3 separate regions of the Homo sapiens genome follow, and regions 2 and 3 are each linked to region 1. Evidence: promoter capture Hi-C in human tissues and cell types (Jung and others, 2019). All regions are on one chromosome and are shown on one strand. The core of a region is centred on a gene start or on the middle of the fragment in contact, and the rest is flanking DNA. Distances in the headings are between cores, read along the strand shown.

Evidence for each region. Contacts are between HindIII fragments. The study calls those that stand out against the background at their distance.
Region 2: a contact is called between a fragment that was not itself captured here and the fragment with the promoter of FAM221B in region 1, in 6 of the 25 tissues and cell types used here (H1 embryonic stem cells, IMR-90 fibroblasts, aorta and 3 more).
Region 3: a contact is called between a fragment that was not itself captured here and the fragment with the promoter of FAM221B in region 1, in 6 of the 25 tissues and cell types used here (H1 embryonic stem cells, aorta, bladder and 3 more).

Annotation. Positions count from the first base shown.
Region 1 is chr9:35,826,518-35,830,561 of GRCh38, reverse strand. FAM221B (family with sequence similarity 221 member B) reads left to right here and starts at 1,830. Exons shown (of 7, transcript NM_001012446.4): 1 at 1,830-2,099. It overlaps TMEM8B (transmembrane protein 8B), which reads right to left and starts at 1,334. Exons shown (of 13, transcript NM_001042590.4): 1 at 607-1,334. The coding sequence starts at 1,114. RefSeq lists an enhancer at 242-742 and a silencer at 1,028-1,477. The HindIII fragment of the contact is 23,285 bases long and covers 1-4,044 here.
Region 2 is chr9:35,932,715-35,936,758 of GRCh38, reverse strand. No RefSeq gene overlaps it. Among named protein-coding and RNA genes, the nearest start is that of OR2S2, 23 kb to the left of the region's middle. The HindIII fragment of the contact is 7,970 bases long and covers 1-4,044 here.
Region 3 is chr9:35,909,037-35,913,080 of GRCh38, reverse strand. SPAAR (small regulatory polypeptide of amino acid response) reads right to left here and starts at 3,591. Exons shown (of 2, transcript NM_001348107.3): 1 at 3,517-3,591; 2 at 1,395-2,924. The coding sequence starts at 2,617. The coding sequence ends at 2,390. RefSeq lists a silencer at 1,956-2,035 and an enhancer at 2,039-2,919. The HindIII fragment of the contact is 7,213 bases long and covers 1-4,044 here.

The sequences.
Region 1 (4,044 bases), core at 581-3,080:
CCTGAGCCTCAGTTTCCCCATCTGTAAAATAGCCTCCGAGTTTCAGCCCTGCTCTAAAAGTATCAGGAATTATTCCTAGGCAAATCAATCTTCTTTGGAACAAGAATCATTACAAGAAGAAAACTCATTATAATGGCAACTAATCCATATTCATCTATTTGCTACATATTATCTTTAAAACTCTTCTTCATGCCGTTTGAATGCATGCCCAATATCTCAAAGGTTTGGGCTATATATTCCCACACTACACTAGGGGCTTCTGGTGTGGGACTGTCTCTCCCCCATCAAACTTTGTGAGCAGGAGCAAAGCCCACAACATTTCCCTGGAAAAGCAAGAGTCAAAGTGGGGTCAGGACAGACACCAGAAAAAATCTTGGAGTCTCTGTGCTAGAAACTGTAAGCCACCTGCTGAGCCTCAAACCCAATTAATTACCACTCTTTTGACCCTGCCAATCCCTGTTGTGTAAGACCTCTCTACTCTCTATTTCTCCCACTTGCTCCCCAATGATCTAGTTCCCCAGGTCCCACCTCTCCTGAATCTCTCCAGCCCACCCCTCCCTGCCGGAACCCCATTCCTGCCTCAATCTTCCCTGCTTCTGCACTCACCAGCCCCTGGGCCAAGGACAGAGAACAGCAACAGCAGCAATAGGGCTGGCGGCAGCTGAAACCCAGACTTGAGTCTAGGCTGGGAGAGGGGCAGAGTATGAGAGATAGGGGGGACTAGAGGGAGAGACTTGGGTAAACACAGAGATGAGGGCAAAGGCTGAGATAATGGGTTGGGCTGGGCTGGACACTGGGGCTTGAACAAGGGCAGGGAGTGGGATGGAAGGAAGGGCTGTGATGGGGACTGCAGCAAGGGACGGGGTTGAGCCAGGGCCTTAAGCAAACACTGGGAATGGGGCTGGGACAGGGCCTGGGCTGGGATTTGTGACAGGGGGTGGAACGAGGGCCGAGGCCGGGATGGGGGCCAGGCCAGGGGCAGAGACTGGAAGGGGGTCCTGGATGGGGACCCAGGCAGGGGCTGGGGCCGATGTGGGAAGCGGGGCGAGGGCGGGGCTGGGGGCCAAGGCGGGGATTGGGATAGGACGAGGGGCCGGGACAAGGGCTGGGCCATGGCCCGGGGCGGGGGCGGGGCCGGACAGGCCAGCGCGGGGCGCTCGCAGAGCTGGCCCGCGGCTCCGCTCCCCACCCCCGGGGGGTGGCCTCCGGTGTCCTCGCGGGCCCGGGGCGGGGGCCGGGGACCTGGGTAGGAGTTCAGGCCTGGGCGACTCCGGGCTGCGCTGAACCGGCGATAACCAGGCCCCGCGGCGGCGGCCTCGACTTGACGTCGGCGTGACGCCCCGCCCCCCGGCCGGCTCGATTGGTCCCTGTCAGTAAAGCCCGCCCCCGCCCTACTCTATTGGTCCCCAACTTAGTCCTGCTGGGCTTCGAGGACACACAGACTCCGCCCCCGCCTCAGCTACCCGAGACCCTGCCTTTCTCACCCCAAGCACAGAGCCCGAGGTCCCCTCAGATCCTCACAGCCCCCAACGACCGCCCCACAGATGTCTCAAAGGAACCCTATCCTCACAATCCCAGACTCCCCCGGACGTACGCACAGATCTCCGCAGATCCTACCCAAACACTCGCTCACAGAGATCCCGCAACACACACCCCACTTTTCAGAAGTAAACCCTCTGGGCTCGCCCCCTCGAGGCCCAATGCAAGCCCCTCAGGAGACCTTACCCACCGGGGAGGTGACCAGACCGCCGTTGCCACGGAGACTACTAGGCGTTCCGGTTGCCCTGGTGACCGGCGCCTACTCTCCTGGCCCGGGTTCCGGAGGCTTCAGTCAAGACCCTCCCTCATTGGCCCTAGACCCCTTGTCCCTACCCACTTCCCCAGGTCATGCCAGAGCTCCTTTGCGAAGTTCTGCAGATATCCAAGTCCCCTTCCCAGATAGCAGACTTTCAGGCAAGGCATTTCAACACTCAGCACCTGCAGCTGAGGCACATCCACAACCAAGAGCCTTTCCTCCCTGAGGATCAACACCTCCCCCTGCCATCCTAAGTCAAGGTCTTGACCTAAGGACTTGTAACAACCAAGCCAAAGCCCAGAGGGTAGGTGGTTTCTCCAACGGCCCTTGCCCTCTTCCCTCAAAGACATCTGTCTTTCTCCCACCCCTCAGTCCCTTCACATTGTTGTAGTAGTAGTAGTAGTAGTAGTAGTAGTAGTAGTAGTAGTAGTAGTTGTTGTTGTTGTTGTTGTTGTTGTTGTTGTTGTTGTTGTTTGAGACAGAGTCTCGCTCTGTCCCCCAGGCTGGAGTGCAGTGGTGCGATCTGGGCTCACTGCAACCTCCGCCTCCCAGGTTCAAGTGATTTGCTTGCTTCAGCCTCCCCAGTAGCTGGGACTACAGGCGCCTGCCACCATGCCCAGCTAATTTTTGTATTTTTAGTAGAGACTGGGTTTCACCATGTTGGCCAGGCTGGTCTCGAACTCCTGACCTCAAGTGATCCACCCGCCTTGGCCTCCCAAATTCTGGGATTACTGGCATGAGCCACCATGCCTGGCCCACATTCTGTACTTTTCATCCTTACTCTCCTCCTCCACCCAATTTCCTCCTCCCCTTCTCTTTCCCCTTCCTCACCTCCCATCTTCTGGTTCTCCACTCTTAGGCCCCTTTTCTCTCTAGCTGACTCTGGTCATCTTCCTCCCTGTAATCCTACCTCTGCCCCTAATTCCCTTCCCAAACATCCCCTTCAAAAAGGCTCTGATGCATTTAAGGAGTGATATATCTAGCGTCTCTGGAACATGGGGGTAAAGTAGGGAGCACGGAAAGTTAAGGCAGGAATCCTCAGGCTGTGTTGAAAATGATGACAGGCCTTGAATGCCAGGGCCAAGAAATTTGGACTTAATCCTTTAGACTGAGTCATGGAATGTTTTTAAGCCACAAAGTGCCAGTTGTTGGGCTTGCACTTTAGAAAGATCCTGATTGGGTCAGGAAGGAGGACTACATCCTTGCAGGATAAATTAGGTATATCCCCCTCCCCACCGTATCCTAGACTCACCCCAGAACAACATCAATTTATTTGTATTGCCATTGTTGGTTAATCGGTCTCTCTCCTAGACTCAACTCAATCTAGAGCTTAGCACAGCGGGTCAGTAAAAGCATCAGATTAGGCTCATTGTAAAAGTATAAGTTACATAAATCCATGAAAGAATGGGTGAATGGATTAAAATGCTGTGGATGGAAGTAGAGGGGCAAAGTTATTACACAAAGGCTGAAGATGATGAGAACTTGAATAAAATTGGAAGGGAGAGGAGAGAATGCATTTGGGGAATATTTAGAAGATAGGAAATAGAGTTATTGGTGCCTATTTGAAGATGGAGTCTAAGGGAAAAGGAAAAGACTAGGATAATTCCCAAAGTTCAGTTTTGCTGTCTGTGGAAACACTCAGTTAGAAATGACCAGCAGGGGCCAAGCACGGTGGCTCACTCCTGTAATCTCAGCACTTTGGGAGGCCAAGCAGGGCAGATCACCTGAGGTCAGGAGTTCAAGACCAGCCTGACCAACATGGTGAAACCCCGTCTCTACTAAAAATATAAAACTTAGCCGGGCATGGTGGCACACGCCTGTAATTCCAGCTACTTGGGAGGCTGAGGCAGGAGAATCACTTGAACCCGGGAGGCGGAGGTTGCAGTGAACCGAGATTGCGCCACTGCACTCCAGTCTGGGCAACAGAGCGAGACTCCATCACAAAAAGAGAAGAGAAGAGAAGGCCAGCAGGCAGGTGGGTATGAGTGTGAAGTACAGAGGTTGAAAAAGGTCTGAGCTAGAAATGTGAATTTAGGAGTCATTGGTACACAACTGGAAGTAGTTAAAGCTTTGAACATGAATGACATCATTAAGGGAGGAGGATGTGTGTGGTGCCTAGACAAAACCAGGCTGCGTGCAGTGTCTTGCCTTATGTGACAGCATTCCCCTGCACTCTCAGGAGCCAACCCCAACTTTGGCTTGGTATTGCCAGTCTCTAGAACTCCATGGTCTGACCTCCAGGGTTTTAA
Region 2 (4,044 bases), core at 645-3,144, 110 kb before region 1:
CTGTTGAGTCTGGATTGAAAGTCATTGTATTAATAGGTAGTGAGGCTGATTACATGATTATATGAGGATTTTAATAATATATATAACTCCTGGATTAATACCAAAATACAACAGAAAGGGTTCAGATATAGTAAGTTTGGTGATTCTGAGATATGACTTTTTGCTTTGCCAAATACTAAAACTTCTATGTAGAAATTAGTTAAGTATAACCAATGAGTTTTGTTTTTTTTTTAATAAAAGTGTCCAATTCTCCTCCTTCTCCTTGTGCACTGTACTGCAGGGCCAATATTCATTCCATTTAAGGCCCATTTGGTCTCCTGGAAAGCTGGCCACAAATAGCTTTCAATAACACCTCTGGGCATACACCAAAGAAGTAAATCTGACTCTAAGTAAAATCTTGTAGCTTGCCAATATTTTCACCAGTTAGGAATTATAGGAATTCAGCCATAGAATTTGAACATAAATTGAAGTCTCCTTTTAGCCATTTTTTGTTTTTAGTAGAGACCAAGATCCCATTCATTGCCAAACGTTTTCATAGGCATGAATGCTTGTGTTTGATCCAGGAATAATAAATGATTGACTGTTACCCAGCAGCAGGGTGGGGTGGGATTCCTGGCACTTTTTTTTTTTTTAAGCAAAGGAAAAACAACTGAGCAGACATTTGCTCTTTCAACAGCGTTTTGTGAAAATGTAAATTAAAGAGACTAGTCTTTTTAAAATTATTTCCATAATCACAAATACGACTGTGGAAAGTCAAGACAATGCTGTTTTAAGTCAATATAAGTTATCTGACCTAGACGTCGCCATTAGGACTGTCAACTAACAAGGCATCTGTAGTTTGCTAACTTTTTTATCTTAATGAATTCTGAATTCAAATGTTTTCTTTTTAAATATAAATATTTGCTTTCGCTAAAGGTAAGTTGAAATTCTTGAGTGTTGACTTGAGTACGTACAGAAAAGATCAGTTTCACTGCCAGTAGCTGGGAAATCCATGGTTGGAATTCAAAAACAGCCAATGTATTATACATCATTACATTTCATTGTACACATTCCTATAATATAGAATAAAATTTAAAATTATTTTTGAATAAAACCTTGATTATAGGAATCACAAGAGAAAAGTTTGCCTCATTTAAGAAGTGCTCTAAACTAATAGCTCTCAAACATTTTGCCCTGCAGGTTAGCAAAAATGAAAAGACTAATCAGACCTAATATTGCTAAGTGTAGAAGAAAATAAGTAGAGTCATGCGTTGTTTAGACTGAGATGCATTCTGAGAAATGCGTCATTAGACGATTTCATCATTGTGGGAACATCACAGACTGGACTTGCACGAACCTAGCCTAATATATACCTAAGCTATATGGCATGGCCTATGGCTGCTAAGCTAGAAACCTGTCCAGTGTGTTACTGTACTGGACACTGTAGGCAATTGTAACACAATGGTAAGTATTTGTGTATCTAAACATAGAAAAGGTACAGTAAAAATATGGAATCATAAACTATGGACCATTGTCATATATGCAGACCACACATCATTGACCAAAACATACATACTGACCAAAATATCATTGTGCAGTGCATGACTATACACTTATACTTGGTGCTAATGTAAACTGGGCCAATTTTTAAAATATAATGCTATAATGTTAGATAGATATATAAGAAAAGTAGACTGAATAAGGAAAACTCAATCATATCCCAAGAAAGAAAACTAAGAGCCTAAAGGCCAAATAGTCCTCGGTTTTACAAGTTGAATCACCATGCATTTAATATTTTTTTAAATTTTTTATTATTTATTTATGTATTTATTTGTTTGTTTGTTTGTTTGTTTTCAGATAGAGTCTCACTCTGTCTCTCAAGCTGGAGTGCAATGGCGCGATCTCAGCTCACTGCAACCTCTGCCACGCAGGTTCAAGTGATTCTCCTGCCTCAGCCTCCCAGGTGGCTGGGATTACAGGCACTCGCCATCACGCCTGGCTAATTTTTTGTATTTTTGTAGAGATGAGGTTTCACCATGTTGGTCAGGCTGGTCTTGAACTCCTGACTTCAGGTGATCTGCCTGCCTCGGCCTCCCAAAGTGCTGGGATTACAGGCATAAGTCACCGTGCCTGGCTACCATGCATTTAATATGAACTTGCCAGATTCAGCAAATAAGAATACAGGTTGCTCAAATTTAATTTCAATTTCAGATAAACAATACTTTTTTTTTTGAGGCGGAATCTCGCTCTGTCACCCAGGCTGGAGTGCGGTGGCACGATCTTGGCTCACTGCAACCTCTGCTTCCCAGGTTCAAGTGATTCTCCTGCCTCAGCCTCCCGAGTACCTGGGACTACAGGCGCCCACCACCATGCCCAGCTAATTTTTGTAATTTTAGTAGAGACGGGGTTTCACCATATTGGCCAGGCTGATCTCAAATTCCTGACCTTGTAATCCACCCACCTCGGCCTCCCAAAGTGCTAGGATTACAAGAGTGAGCCACCGCTCCCGGCCAAACAATACTTTTTTTAGTATAAGCATGTCTATATACTTTGTGTCATAGCTATAGTTTAAAAAGTATTCATTGTTTATCTGAAATTCAGATTTTACTAAGCATCCTGTGTTTTATCTGGCAACTCTAATTTAACATAAAACAATAATGATTACAAGATAGGAAAGTTTTATCTTAGATTGTTGGTAAAATTCCTGCCCCAAATCTCTTCTTTCACATCCTTTACCCAGGGTATGATTTTCCAACTGTTGTCCTAGAAATTCCCTGGCTAATCTTGTTATTTTATCCTTATCCTTAGATCCATCTTACAATGTCCTCCAGTATCTCTTACTCATTTTTTTTCTTTCTTTTTCAGTCATAATTCTTTTCATTTTCAAGTTGCTGTTAATAGTTCCACGTACATTCAAGAGACAATCCTCTTACCCATCTCAAAACTAGGCATTACTCAATTTTCCTGGAGGAGGGTAAGAAGAAGCCAAATCCAGAACAGAGAGTACAAATAATTAACAGGCTTAATCTTTGGAGTGTCTCAACTGCAAAGGAGTAATTGTTTTCCTACCTACTCTTGTTGCTTTTACAGGTGAGCAGACAGGCTGGAACAGACAGGCAAGGAAAAGACTGTTGAAAAGATTGTTCCAAGAACATGAAATTTAACTGCAGTCCGATTTGTACAAATTCCATTTATCTTGGTTTCGAACTACCCCTCTCTACCACTCGGATCTTTGGAAGCTTAAATGGCTAGTTACAATTAAAAAAAAAATACAATCAAATGAAAAAACTCTACAGGAATTTAGACACTGACTTGAGAGTTAATTACACTACAGACTTATTGTGAAATGTTTGGGGGCCTAAGAATGGTATTGTGGTTATGTTTTTAATAAGAGCCTTTATCTTTTAGATACATCCTGAAATATTTGCAAATTAAACAATACTCCTGGAATTAGCTTGATAAGGTAGGGGATGAGTGGATGGAAGTACAGATAAAGCGAGTTTGTTGAAGCTGGAGAACAGGTACCCGGGAGCCCATTATACTATTCTCTGTGTTTTTATGTGTCTTTGAGATTTTAAGAATTTTACTTTAAGAATAATAAGAATTCTTAAAGTAAAAATTATTATATGCATACGATGCAATGTTATTCAGCCTTGAAAGGTAGAAAATTCTGACACATGCTACAACATGGACGAACCTTGAGGACTTTATGCTAAGCGAAATAAGCCAGTCACAAAACAGCAAATACTGTATGATTCCACTTATATGAGGTACCTAGAGTTTTCAAACTCATAGAAACAGAAAGTAGAATGGTGGTTACCAGGGGCTAGGGGGAGGGGGAAGTGGGGAAGTATTACAGTATTTGGTTGGTACAGAGTTTCACTTTGGAAAGATGAAAAAAGCCCTGGAGATAGGTAGTGGTGATGGCTGCACAACAGCGTGAATGGACTTAATGCCACTGAACTATACACTGAAAGATGGTTAAGATGGTAAATGCTGCATTATGTATATTTTACCATGGTAAAAAAAGAAATGAATTTCATTTTATAAATAAAAAGTACTACT
Region 3 (4,044 bases), core at 416-2,915, 83 kb before region 1:
TGGGCAGATGGGCAGGTGAACAAATGAAGAGCGTGCCGGGCTTGGCAGACAGCCTGTCTCCTGCAGAGGGAGGCCAGGCTCCCTCCCCATGCCCGCTTCACCAGCACTTTGTTTTCACGGCCCTGTGATTCCAGCCTGCAGACCCTCCCGGACTGACCTAGTGAGTGCTGTGACCACACAGTACAAGAGCAGAGCCCTGGGCCTGGCTCCTGGTGAAGGGTGCCTGAGCTGGAGCAGAGCTGACTCTGGCTGAGGAGAGAGGGAGACTGAGGCCCACTCTTCTCCCTTCCAGATCCTGCACGGCCGTCTCTCCTCTCATAGATCTCCTGTGCCCAGGTTTTTCTTTGTGTCTGGACATATTCACCCACCTCTGACCAGTCTAGGCTCTTCCAAGAACAGGACCCTACAGAGTTTCTGTGGAGATGTGCTGCCCAGGTCCCCTTCAAAGGAAGGACTTCAGCCAAATGCAATGGCTCACACCTGTAATCCCAACATTTTGGGAGGCCAAGGTGGGAGGATCACTTGAGGCCAGGAGAGTTCAAGACCAGGTTTGGAAACATAGTGAAATCCCATCTCTACAAGAAAAGGATTTTTTAATTAGCTAGGCACGGTGGCATGCACCTATAGTCCCAGCCACTCAGGAGGCGGAGGTGGGAGGATTGACTGAGCCCTGGAATTTGAGGCTGCAGTGACCTATGATCACACGACTGCACTCTGGCCCAGGTGGCAGAGTGAGATCCCATCTCCTAAAATAAAATAAAATAAAATAAAATAAAATAAAAATAATAAAATAGGAAGGGCTTCAAGACCTGCCTCAGCTGCAGAGAGCTGCCCTGGCTGAGGTCAGACCCTGGGAGAGGGGAGAGGGACTCAGAGACGGAGCAAAGGTGGGGATATGAAGGACCTGCATCACGGTTTGACTTCTTCCTCTGCCCAATCCTGCTTCTTCCTTCTCCCCTTTGTAGGTGTTGATCCCTGACAAATATCTTGCACCCGAACTTTGTCTCACTGTTCGCTTTTAGAGAACACAGCCCTCAAAAGTTCTCTTCCCTCCGTCTCCAGGGCCTCCCCACATGTGCCGTTCCCTTCTCTGTGCATCTCTGAAGGCCCTGCGTCGAGGGCTGGTGTCAGGAGTGTCCAGGACATGGTCCCAGGAGCTCCTGGACCTGGGCTGAGCCTCGCCCACCATGCTCCTCCCCATCCCTCTCCGTCAGCCTCACTCTCCCCACCACTTCCCCCTCCCCGCGTGCACCTCTCCAGCTCCAAGCCACTCTGAAAGCCCTTCCCATGGCAGCCACATGGCAAGGGCAGCCTGTCTGGACACCCTTAGAGGCCAGAGCCCCCCTAAAGCTCAGTCCTGCCCCCCTCAACAAACAGGTCCTGGGAGAGCCATCTATTCAGGGCTGGATACAGACATAAGAGCCAGGAGGCTCACAATTTTGCACCCTTCAAACCAAACTCCTTAAATATAGCATGGCATTTATTCCATGGCCATGGGAGAATGGGTTTTCTGTTAATAAAAACTGAATATCCCCTTATTTGTGATGAAAACAAGAGCTTTGAATGTAACATAACATTTTAACTTGTCTGGAATTATCTTTCAGTTCCTGATTTTTCTGTCACTCCGAAGTGACACAAGTCATTCACATTCTCTAAGAATAGGAGTGACCTGTTGGAATATAGCAATAAAGTCTCATTAAAAATATGTTTAAAATATCTTATTTCTGGCTTTCCTGTTAATAAAACATATTGTACTTTCTGTGGCTCTTATTTTCTCTTCTGTTTCCTTTTGTGGTTTTTCTAATCAGATTTGGAAAGGCCCATAAAAGGATATACATTTTCAATTCTAAGGTAAATAACTTGTTCTCAGGAAGCAGCTCTTTGGTTTCAGAATTTCAGGGCTGATTTCAGGCAACTGGCAGGGAGCAGGCCTCGAGGTTGGGTTCTGTGCAATGTGCAAAAGTAATCAATTAGGAGCAAGTAAGAAGCGGTTTCTAGAAATGTCCACTTGAGGGTGCTGCGTGCCCAGGTGGCAACAGAACCAGCATCATAGGCACACCGTTTACAATAAATTCCAGTGATATTTCAGTTCCTGGTGTAGATCAGCAGAGCCGGCCCACCGTGCACTCCGGCGCTGTCTGTTCACTCACTCCTCAGAGCTCTCCTAAGCCCCATCCTGTGGGTCAACCCCAGCTGGGCTGTCCCAATAACAAGGATCCCTGAGGCTGGAGGGCACAGAAGGCTGGAATGGGAGGAGACGGGAAGTTCACAGGTTACTGGAGGGGAAGGACAGGGAGAAGGCCCTGGGAGGAGGGGAAGGCCAGGGAAGGCTTGCTGAGGAGCGGGTGAGTCTGACCCATCAGCACAGCAAATCCTGGGGACTCGGGCGTCACATGAAGGTCCAGAAGTCCTGGGCACTTGGCACTGGCTGGGCATGGCGAACAGGCCCCGTGAAGAGAGAAGCTTCCTGGCGAAACGTGGCCACCGTGAAGCTGCGGCCAGGACCCCCCTGAGGATCCTGGGCCCTTGAGTCACAGCTGAAGCAGCAGAGGACGCAGGTGATGGCCACAGTCACCACGAACAGCACCACCACCACCCCAATCACTGCCGTTTCCATGGCCCACTGAGCAACCTTAGGTCCTCTCGGAGCCTTCGCTCCCATCCAGAACAGGAGGCTCTTCGCGATCGCAGGTGCCCCGTGCTCCTCCGGCGGCTCTCCTTCCGTCTCCTAAGAAGATGCTGCTCTGAGTCCCTGGGTCGCTCCTGCTCCAGGCCTTCGGGCGCTGCCACGTGGCCCCACTGCTGAAATCTCAGATGATCTCTGTCTATTTTCTAAGCCTCAGGCCATGCCTCCAAGAGCTGTGGTCAGCTCCATGTCAGCTTCTAGAAGAAGCACTGTCCTGGAAGACGTGAGCACAGATTCCCTGGACACAGAGAAGGTGGAGAGGAGGGGTCAGAAGACGTTGCACAGAGACAGCCTAGCCAGCGCTGGCCCTCCGGTGACGCCTACAGATTTCAAGAGCAAGTTACGCCCAGACCAAAGACAAAATACTCCCCCTACTATGGATGCAGGAGGAGCCCGGCTCCTCCCCAGGAGGGACCTTGGGCCAGTCCTTCAATTGGCCTATCTGCTGCCTCCCCAGCCCCTGGCCCTGTGCTGGGGGCAGGGACATGAGGAGGGAGGAAGGCATGCGCCAGCTCTGGGCAAGGCAGGGGACACTCACGGGTCACCCCAGGTGCCAGGGCCTTTAGTGGGGGCTGGAGGCAGGGGCAGGTTGCATTTGGCGTCCTTTTCTGCATGGCGCTGGGATCATGCAGTTTAGATAGAGTATCAGGTGCTTCCCCGGGAATCCCTGCCCTGTCCATGACCGTGGGGCTCTTTACCCGGAGGTCCCGGAAGAGCCTTCTTAGATGCCGGCCTCACCCACCCTCTTTGCTGCCTGCTTAGCCCGTTGCTCACATTCTTGAACTATTAAGATTTACCCTGGGCTCCCCAAAGGCCAGCCCTGGCTGTACCTGGTGCTGCAGCCTCCTGGCCTGGTGGCCGTCCCAGGGACCACGGCGTTCCTCCCTGGGTGCTGCAGCCTCTGTCCTGGTTGGAACTTGGCTCCGAGATGTCTGAGCAGCTGTGAGCACTTCCTGAATTCTTTCCTCCAATTGTGAGCGAGGGCCCAGGACCCACACTGCAGCCCTCCAACCCCCGCTCAGCAGTTATCCCGTCCCGCCATGCGCACCCCAGGCCTTTTCCACCCTCCTCCCTGCCAGGAGGTCAGGGGAATAAGCTAGGCCCAGGCAACTGAGTTAGTCTGCCAGGTGAGAGCCCTTTCACACCCAGCACCTCCTGAGACCCCCACCACTTCCAGAAAGGAGACTGGGCTATTAGCCCCACTTTGTCCATATTCTGGGAAACAGAGTAGTGAGAACAATAACTCCAGGCATGGGACCTCACCAGACATGATCTCATATAACCTCCCCAGCAACCCTGCATAGCGATATAGCCTCCATTTTATAGAAAAAGATCCTATGGTCATAGAAGTTAAATGA